Regions from separate parts of the Homo sapiens genome. Here all the other regions are linked to region 3. The links are contacts of gene promoters, found by promoter capture Hi-C in blood cells and fetal thymus (Javierre and others, 2016). All regions are on one chromosome and are shown on one strand. Each heading gives the region's core, a stretch centred on a gene start or on the middle of the fragment in contact. The rest is flanking DNA. Distances are from core to core; before and after follow the strand shown.

Region 1 (2,804 bases), core at 199-2,698, 210 kb after region 3:
GGAGTGCAGTGGCGCAATCTAGACTCACCACAACCTCCGCCTCCCAGGTTCAGGAGATTCTCCTGCCTCGGCCTCCCTAGTAGCTAGGATTACAGGCAGGCGCCACCATGCCCGGCTAATTTTGTATTTTTAGTAGAGATGGGGTTTCTCCATGTTGGTCAGGCTGGTCTCGAACTCCTGATCTCAGGTGATCCACCCGCCCTGGCCTCCCAAAATGCTGGGATTACAAGCGTGAGCCACCGCGCCCGGCAATTTTTTGTATTTTTAGTAGACAGGGTTTCACCATGTTGTCCAGGCTGGAATTTCTTTTTTTTAAAGAGCTGGGTTCTTGCTACATTGCCCAGGCTGGTCTAGAACTCCTGGTCTCAAGCAGTTCTCCTGCCTTGGCCTCCCAAAGTGCTGGGATTACAGATGTGAACCATCACGCCTGGCCATATAGCATGGTTTTCAAAAAAGAAGGGTATAGGCTGGGCACGGTAGGTCACACCTATAACCCCAGCACTTTGGGAGGCCAAAGAGGGCAGATCACTTGAGGTCAAGAGTTTGAGACCAGCCTGGCCAACGTGGCGAAACCTTATCGCTACTAAAAATACAAAAATTAGCCAGGCGTGGTGGCGCGTGCTACCTGGAAGGCTGAGCAAAGAGAATCACTTGAACCCGGGAGGCAGAGGTTGCAGTGAGCTGAGATTGTGACACTACATTCCAGCTTGGGCAACAAAGTGAGACTCCGTCTCAAAAAAAAAAAAAATTAACCAGGCATGGTGACACATGCCTGTAGCCCAGTAACTTGGGAGACTGAGGCAAAAGGACTACTTAAGCCAAAGAGTGGGAGGTTACAGTGAGCTACAATCACACCAATGCATTCCAGCCTGGGTGCCTGGGTGACAGAGCAAGACCCTGTCTCTAAAAAACATAAGAAAAGAAAACCGAGCTGTTTCTTAGAAAAACCATAGGTTTAATGAAAAAAAAACTAATAAAAATATTTCTAATGATATTATTTTATTTATATATTTGCCATTACATTTTTAATGTCAAATTTATGCTCAAATGTAATAATAGATATGGAGGCTGAGCACGGTAGCTCACACCTGTAATTCCAGCACTTTGGGAGGCCGAGGTGGGGAGACTGCTTGAGGGCAGGAGTTCGAGACCAGCTTGGCCAACGTGGCGAAATCTCGTCTCTAGTAAAAGTACAAAAACCAGCCAGGGGTGGTGGCACTAGCCTGTAATCCCAGCTACTCGGGAGGCTGAGGCAGGAGAATCACTGAACCCAGGAGGTGGAGGCTGAAGTGAGCCTAGATAGTGCCACTGCACTCCAGCCTGGGTGACAGAGCAAGACTCTGTCTCAAAAATAAAATAATAATAATAATAATAATAATAATAATAATAGATATGGAAATTAAACCAAATAGCTTTTATTAAATTGAAAATTCTTCCTGAGGACACATAAGTCTCCTCCCTTCCTCCCTCCTTCCTCCTTCCCCTCCCTCCCCTACCTCCCCTATCTCCTCCCTCCTTTCTCACTCTGTTGCCCCGGCTAGAGTTCAGTGGCACCATTATGGCTTACTGCTTAGGGCCCAGTGTTGGCCTGCTGGGCTCAAGTGACCCACCTCAGCCTCCTAAGTAGTTGGGACTACAGGCCTCTGTCTCCCGGGTTCCAGCAATTCTCCTGCCTCAGCCTCCTGAGTAGCTGGGATTACAAGCACGAGCCACCATGCCTGGCTAATTTTTTGTATTTTTAGCAGAAACAAGGTTTCATCATGTTGGCCAGGCTGGTCTCAAACTCCTGACCTCAAGTGATCCACCCGCTTCGGCCTCCCAAAGTGCTGGGATTATAGGCCTGAGCTACCGCACCTGGCCTGCCCAGCTAACTTTTACAATTTTTTTGTAGAGACCAGGTCCCACTATGTTACCCAGGCTGGTCTCAAATTCCTGAGCTCAAGCAATTCTCCTGCCTTGGCCTCCCAAAGTGCTAGGATTACAGGCGTGAGCCACCATGGCTGTGGAAGTCTCTTACTCAACTCTCATTAAGAATGCTAATAGGCTGGGCATGGCAGCTCAACAGCCTGTAATCCCAGCACTTTGGGAGGCTGAGGCGGGCAGGTCACCTGAGGTCAGGAGTTTGAAACCAGCCTGGCCAATATGGCGAAACCCCATCTCTACTAAAATACAAAAATTAGCCGGGCATGGTGGCGGGCAACGGTAATCCCAACTACTTGGGAGGCTGAGGCAGGACAATCACTTGAACCCGGGAGGCGAAGGTTGCCGTGAGCCAAGATCGCACCACTGCACTCCAGCCTGGGTAACACAGTGAGACTCCATCTCAAAAAAAAAAGGGGGGGGGCACTTCTGTTCCAAAGTGTTCCAAAGCTGTCTGTGGGATAGGCTGAGGCCTCACCAAGACTATAACGCAAACTTGGCCTCTCCCTCTGTCCAACTTTGCTTCCTTCCCCTCCTTTCCACGGGCGTGGATCCCAAGTGCACTCCCTAATAAATGTCTTGTATGATTATTGACATCTCAGAGTCAGCTTCCCAAGAACCCAACCTATGGCACCACCCAAATGAACAGCAGCATCTAATTAGACTAAAAACTAGCCTTTGAAATAAACACACATATACACACAAATCACAACATGTGAATTTGATGGTTGTTCCTCCACCACTTCTGGTTTAGCTAAAGTTCTTTGTTGAGTCCTCTCAGATCATCACATTCACACCACACATATACAAACACGTTGGGCTACAGGCATATTACCCTTTTCTTCATTAATCCGCACTGCCATCACCTGGTCTGGGCTTCTGTT
Region 2 (3,064 bases), core at 326-2,825, 190 kb after region 3:
GCAAAAGGTGGTGGGATTATCATTGGTTCTTATAGGTTTGGGATAGGCGGTGTAGTCAGGAGCAATTTTTTACAGGCAGGGGATGGATATTACAAAGTACATTCTCAAGGGTGGGGAGGATGTTACAAAGTACATTCACAAGGGCAGGGAGGGTGTATTGTCACAAGGGCAGGGAGGATGTATTGTCACAAGGGTGGGGAGGAATGTTACAAAGTACATTCACAAGGACAGGAGTATCACAAAGTACATTATCACAAGGGTGGGGGAATGTCACCGTGGCTTGACCATAGTGCAGCCAGCTCAGAGGACCTTACAAAAAGTTTCATACTTGCACGTGTTTTCTTGTGGCAAAAATATAAAACATTTAATTTCTGGGATTCTTTTTTTTTTTTTTTTTTTTTTGAGATGTAATCTCACTCTGTTGCCCAAGCTGGAATGCAATGGCGAGGACTCAGCTCACTGCAAACTCCGCCTCCCAGATTCAAGCAATTCTCCTGCCTCACCCTCCAGAGTAGCTGGGATTACAGGCGCCCACCACCACGCCTGGCTAATTTTTGTATTTTTAGTAGAGACAGGGTTTCACCATATTGGCCAGGCTGGTCTCGAACTCCTGACCTTGTGATTTGCCTGTCTCGGCCTCCCAAAGTGCTGGAATTGCAGGGTGAGCCACCACGCCTGGCTGGGATCATCTTTTTTTCTACAGAGAGAAAATCAATTGTATCTCTACCAGGCAAACAATTTGCATTTGTATTAATATGAACAGGGATCATTTGTATCACTGTCAGGCTTCTACATATTTAACTTTTCTTTCTAGAGTTGCAAAACAGTACAAGACAAGGAAGGATACTGACCTGTAGAGAATCAGAAAACCCCCAGAAGCATCCTGTCCTCTAGTCTAGACAAATCCTAGTAATCCACTGGAAGGATGCCTGTATTTGTCCATTTCAGAAACTGTCACAATTTTTCCTTAACTAACAGCAGGAATTTTGATAGCCAAAAGTCATATTGTTTATTATCACTGTGGGAGCCAAGGCCTTTGGCTCCCTGAAGTTTGCTGAAAATCACTGACGCAAGGCAGATTAATAGGAAAAAAGGCATACAAACTTATTTAATATGTATACATAGAAGCCTTCAGAATGAAGACCCAACCTCCCAGTGAGGTGCAAAAGCTTATACGCCATCATGAGGTTACAGAAAGAATGAGTTTGGATCCTGCGGGAGAAAAGGAATTCTGTTGATGGGCAATAAATGATTACTAAAGAGAATGATTTGATCAGGAAACAAATTAACTTGTAAATAGTTTTCTTTGGAATTTAGATGACCATGAGAAGCAGGCATTAACTCATGAAAAGGTCTGTTCAGGTGTGGTTACATTTTTGGTCTTACAGGAGGAAAAGAAACCTACTGTTCTCCTTGGAGGGTCTGGATCTTAGGCAAATAAAGGAACTTCAGCTTTTTGGGAGAGACCGTGTGGAGCGGGGAAGGTCAGAGAGATCTTCAGGTTGCTTCTTCGGTTCAGTACTATATTTGGGGGTATCGATTTATAAACCCCAACATTACCTAATGTATTGTTCCCGATGAGCCTCCCTCCAATCCCTTTTCCCCTGTATCCCAATGGCCGGAAACTTGTGGAAATTCTTCCCAAGGCCTCTAAAAGCAGCACTTGCTTTTGCCTGGTTGCTAATGCAAGTTGTGAATTGCGCACGTGAATCACTATCACTGTCCATCCACCACTCTCTTGCTCTAAGGCATTGAAACGGCACTGCAGAGAGACGCCAGGTAACAAAGACTCTCCTTAACCAAGCTCTAGCATGGCTTCTAGCAACTTAAGGCCTTGTCCCTAGGAGGACCTCAGCCCCCCGCTTAAAATGCCTGCCTGAAAAAGCTCATCGCTGTCAGAAAAATTTACTGTGCATCCCAGCCCAAACCTAGCAATAGACACAGGCCCCTGAACTTCATCTTAGTGCAATTACTTAGAAAGAAAGCTTGCAATTAAAACATCTTTCTCTGCCTCTTTGAGATGTAAATCTTCTACCCAGAGCTATTTTCACTGGGACCTGAGAGTTTCTTTGAAATGCAAACATTTGAGGAAATAAATCTTGCTCCAGCTCCCAACCAGGTGGGTGCCTTGCTCTAACTTGCACTACTAGCTCCTGTCGTAAAAATAGGTGCTTATTTCTCTTCTGGACAAGAGCCAATTCACAAATCCAGATTGTCTAGTCACATGGAGCAATTCTCCTTAATATCTTCATGCCTATCCCTTAGCACATCCCAGCCTTCAAAAGGCCTCCTGCATTTTTTTTTTTTTTAAGGAAGTTAAGTTCAGTTCACCTTGGGCCCTCTTCCCTACTGCAATAGTTACTACTTAAAAAAACCTATCCTAGGCCGGGTGCAGTGGCTCACGCCTGTAATCCCAACACTTTGGGAGGCCGAGGTGGGCAGATCACCTGGGGTCAAAAGTTCAAAACCAGCCTGACCAACATGGAGAAACGCTGTCTCCACTAAAAATACAAAAAAATTAGCCGGGCGTGGTGGTGCATGCCTGTAATCCCAGCTATTCAGGAGGCTGAGGCAGGAGAATCGCTTGAACCCCGGACACGGAGGTTGCGGTGAGCCAAGATCGCGCCATTACCCTCCAGCCTGGGCGACAAGAGTGAAACTCCATCTCAAATAAATAAATAAATACCTATCCTTACTTCTTGTCTAAACTATTGTCTGGCTTTGTTTAGCTTTGACACAGGCTTTATAAGCCCACAAGTAACTTTAAGGCAAAGCCTTATAAATTCATCCAAGGCACTGACATTGAAGAATGTCTAACATTTCTGTGATATGCTTCAATCTCACTTCCAGCCTGTTCCAAACCTTCTTTTTAGTTTTCTACTTCCAGAGACTTTTTCCTTTGGTTAATCACCTTGTAATTCTTAGGTCTGATTCTCGAGCTAGCACATTTCAGCCCCTACAAATAAATGCCTTCTCCCAAAATGTGCAGCTCTTTTGCCATGCTACATTCTATTTGTCTTTCTAGTACTATTTTAATAAGTATCATAGCTCAAGCATGATCAAC
Region 3 (2,840 bases), core at 206-2,705:
TAAAACTTATAGTAAGCTATTTAACCCCTCTCCACCTCAGTTTTCTCATTTATAGAATGGGGATGATAAAAGATATCTCATAAAACTATTGTAAGATCAAATGAGTGAATATGTTAAAGTGTCAGAAGATGGACTAGCACTCTGTAAGCTTTCATCGAATATTAGCTAAAACTACACATTCTGCCAGCCTCAAGTTTTCCTGCCAAGTCCCCTTAATGTTACAGCCTAAGTAAACAAATGACCTGAAGCCCGAAACACAAACCATAGCATGGCCAGCTATTACGCTACTGACAAGAAGAAGGAGGAGAAAAAGACAGTTTCCCAAGTCAGGATATAGGGAATCATGCCATTCTCCAGCCTACCTTTTCAACTCAGTCACCTCTACGCTGTCACATACGATGTCCACCCCCATTGCAGTCTCCCTGATGCCTTTGTCCATATTAAAAGTCCTTCATTGCATGTGACAGAAAGCTAGCACAAACTGCCTTGAGCAAAATAGAAAATGTATTGGGTCACTGTATTAGTTATCTGTTGCTGTGTAACAAATTGCCCCAAACTTCACAGCTAAAAACAATAAGCATTTTTGATGAAAAATAAAAAATTGAAAAAAAATTTAAAAACCAAACATTTATTATCTCACAGTTTCTCTTGATAAGGAATCTGGGCATGGCTTAGCTGGGTGCCTCTGGCTTAAGGTACTCACACAACTAACATCACGGTGTCAGCCAGGGCTGCAGTCATTTCAAGGACCTCCTGGGGAGGATCCACTTCCAGTCTCACTCATGTGATTCTTGGCTAGCCTCAGTCCTCATGGACAGTTGGCCAGAGGAATCAGCTCCTCGCCGATTGTTGGCTGGGGGCCTCCCTCTGTTCTTTGTTTTGGAACCCTCTCCCTAAAGTATCTCACAAAACAATACCTGGCTCCCCTCAGTGTAAGGTAGGGAGACAGAGATAGTGGGAAAGACAGAGAGGGAGAGAGGGCAAGAGAAAGAGAGAGCGCATATGCACACACATGCTAACCCAAGATGGAAGTCACAGCTTTTTTGTAACCTAATCTCAGAAGTGACCCATCCCACATCTCTGCCACATTCTATTCACTTGAAGCAAGTCACTAAATCCAGGCCACACTAAAGAAGAGGTGATTACACAGAGGCATGAATGCCAGGAGGTACAGATCTTTAGCAGTCACCTTTAGGAGCCAAATTTAGAACCCAAGTCCCTTGATGTCAAAGCAAGTGATGCTCCACATCAGTCACAAATGAGGCCCTGAATAGACTTGGGACCTCTACCTGCCTGCGCAGATGGGAGGAGTCTGTGGTGTTTTGTATAAACAACCCTCCCTCTGAGACACACACACATACACATACACATGCACACACACACTCATATACACATGCAGAAGCTGTGACACGTGCGGAAGCTGTGGTAAGTGCATCCTCCTTCAGTCTCAGTTCTGAAAATAGATCATCATGGTGGCACCAAAGAGTCACACAGATGACTGGGCTCCTGGGCCTTTCTCCAGTAAGCCACAGAGGAGTCAGCTGCAAATATTCTCTTCTGTTCTACAGACCTCTCTCCTCTTCCTGCTCATGGGTAAGTCCACTTTATGGCCACCACTTCTTGCTACTGCGGTTCTTCTGAGGCCAGTTGCATTCCCTGCCTGGGAGATTCTTTTTTTTGTTTTTTGTTTTTTTTAACGGAGTCTCACTCTGTTGCCAGGCTGGAGTGAAGTGGCGCAATCTCGGCTCACTGCAACCTCCACCTCCTGGGTTCAAGCGATTCTCCTACCTCAGCCTCTTGAGTAGCTGGGATTACAGGTGCATGCCAACACACCCAGCTAATCTTTGTATTTTTAGTAGGGGCAGGGTTTCACTATGTTGGCCACGGTGGTCTCGATCTCTTGACCTCGTGATCTGCCCAGCTCAGCCACCTGAAGTGCTGGGATTACAGGCGTGAGCCCAGTTCTTGTTGGTAAAATCGGGAAACTCATCTCCTTGCCAGAAATTACTTTGCATGTGTGCATATTCGTGCACTATGAAGGGGGTAACATTCTAGCCCCGGTCTCAAATAGCTCTGGGCTCAAACTACATTTCTCTTGCCCTCACATTTTCCTAAGAAATGCCAAGTATATAATGAGTTTGTTCCCTGTATGGTGTGGATAAAACCCACAGAGGGATCCAGGAAAATCCCCTGATGAGAAGCCACCTAGCAATTTCCTAGGGATGGAGAGAACTTCTGGAGCTTCTTTCTATGTATCCTGCCTTGGTTATCATATATGCTGGCTTTATTACTGAGGTTTCACTGGGGACCTGGACGCGGTTAGGTGACCATGGGCAAGGTGGCGTTTATCTGGATATCCTTTTCTCCTCAACCTTATTCCTCCCTATCAAGGCCCAACTCCTGGGAAACATCTCTCCGCTGCATGGCCCGGAACCCCACTGTCCAGCAGATAGAGCCAATCCAGTACCCCAGAGAGGATCTCAGCCACCTGGGACTGTGGCAGCTACTGTCCTTCTGTGCTCCCGCTTTCTCCAGGGCTTCAGGGATGATGGTGCAGGTAGCACTAGAGATCTGAGAGCAGTGGGGGTTGGCAGTTGGTGCCTGAAGGGAGCTTTAGAAACACTCCTAGATGCAGATATGGGTGAACGAGGAGCCTAGACCTCAGAGCTGAGGTCCAGTCTGACCTCTTTTCACTTTCAATTTTATCTTGGCTCATCAAAACACACAGAAAGCAGCAAGGCTGTTTATGTTTACCTCCAACCTTTGGGGTGTTCCTTGATTGTGTTGAGCAAACCTGAAATAAGCTACATTCAAGGTCATCCAAGCCGCAAATGATCAAT

Evidence for each region. The method cuts DNA at HindIII sites, captures the fragments that hold promoters and counts their contacts. A CHiCAGO score of 5 or more calls a contact.
Region 1: a contact is called between a fragment that was not itself captured here and the fragment with the promoter of LY9 in region 3, in 1 of 17 cell types (total CD8 T cells). The highest score is 5.6, in total CD8 T cells.
Region 2: a fragment that was not itself captured here is called in contact with the fragment with the promoter of LY9 in region 3 in 11 of 17 cell types (megakaryocytes, M1 macrophages, naive CD8 T cells and 8 more); the score reaches 10.8 in megakaryocytes.

What each region holds. Positions count from the first base shown.
Region 1 is chr1:161,003,813-161,006,616 of GRCh38, forward strand. All of the region lies in intron 1 of F11R (F11 receptor), which reads right to left. Among named protein-coding and RNA genes, the nearest start is that of F11R, 16 kb to the right of the region's middle. RefSeq lists enhancers at 2,179-2,688, 2,689-2,804. The HindIII fragment of the contact is 7,142 bases long and covers 1-2,804 here.
Region 2 is chr1:160,985,778-160,988,841 of GRCh38, forward strand. No RefSeq gene overlaps it. Among named protein-coding and RNA genes, the nearest start is that of ITLN2, 33 kb to the left of the region's middle. RefSeq lists a silencer at 1,622-1,916. The HindIII fragment of the contact is 816 bases long and covers 1,168-1,983 here.
Region 3 is chr1:160,794,719-160,797,558 of GRCh38, forward strand. It overlaps LY9 (lymphocyte antigen 9), which reads left to right and starts at 1,456. Exons shown (of 10, transcript NM_002348.4): 1 at 1,456-1,593. The coding sequence starts at 1,470. The HindIII fragment of the contact is 6,680 bases long and covers 147-2,840 here.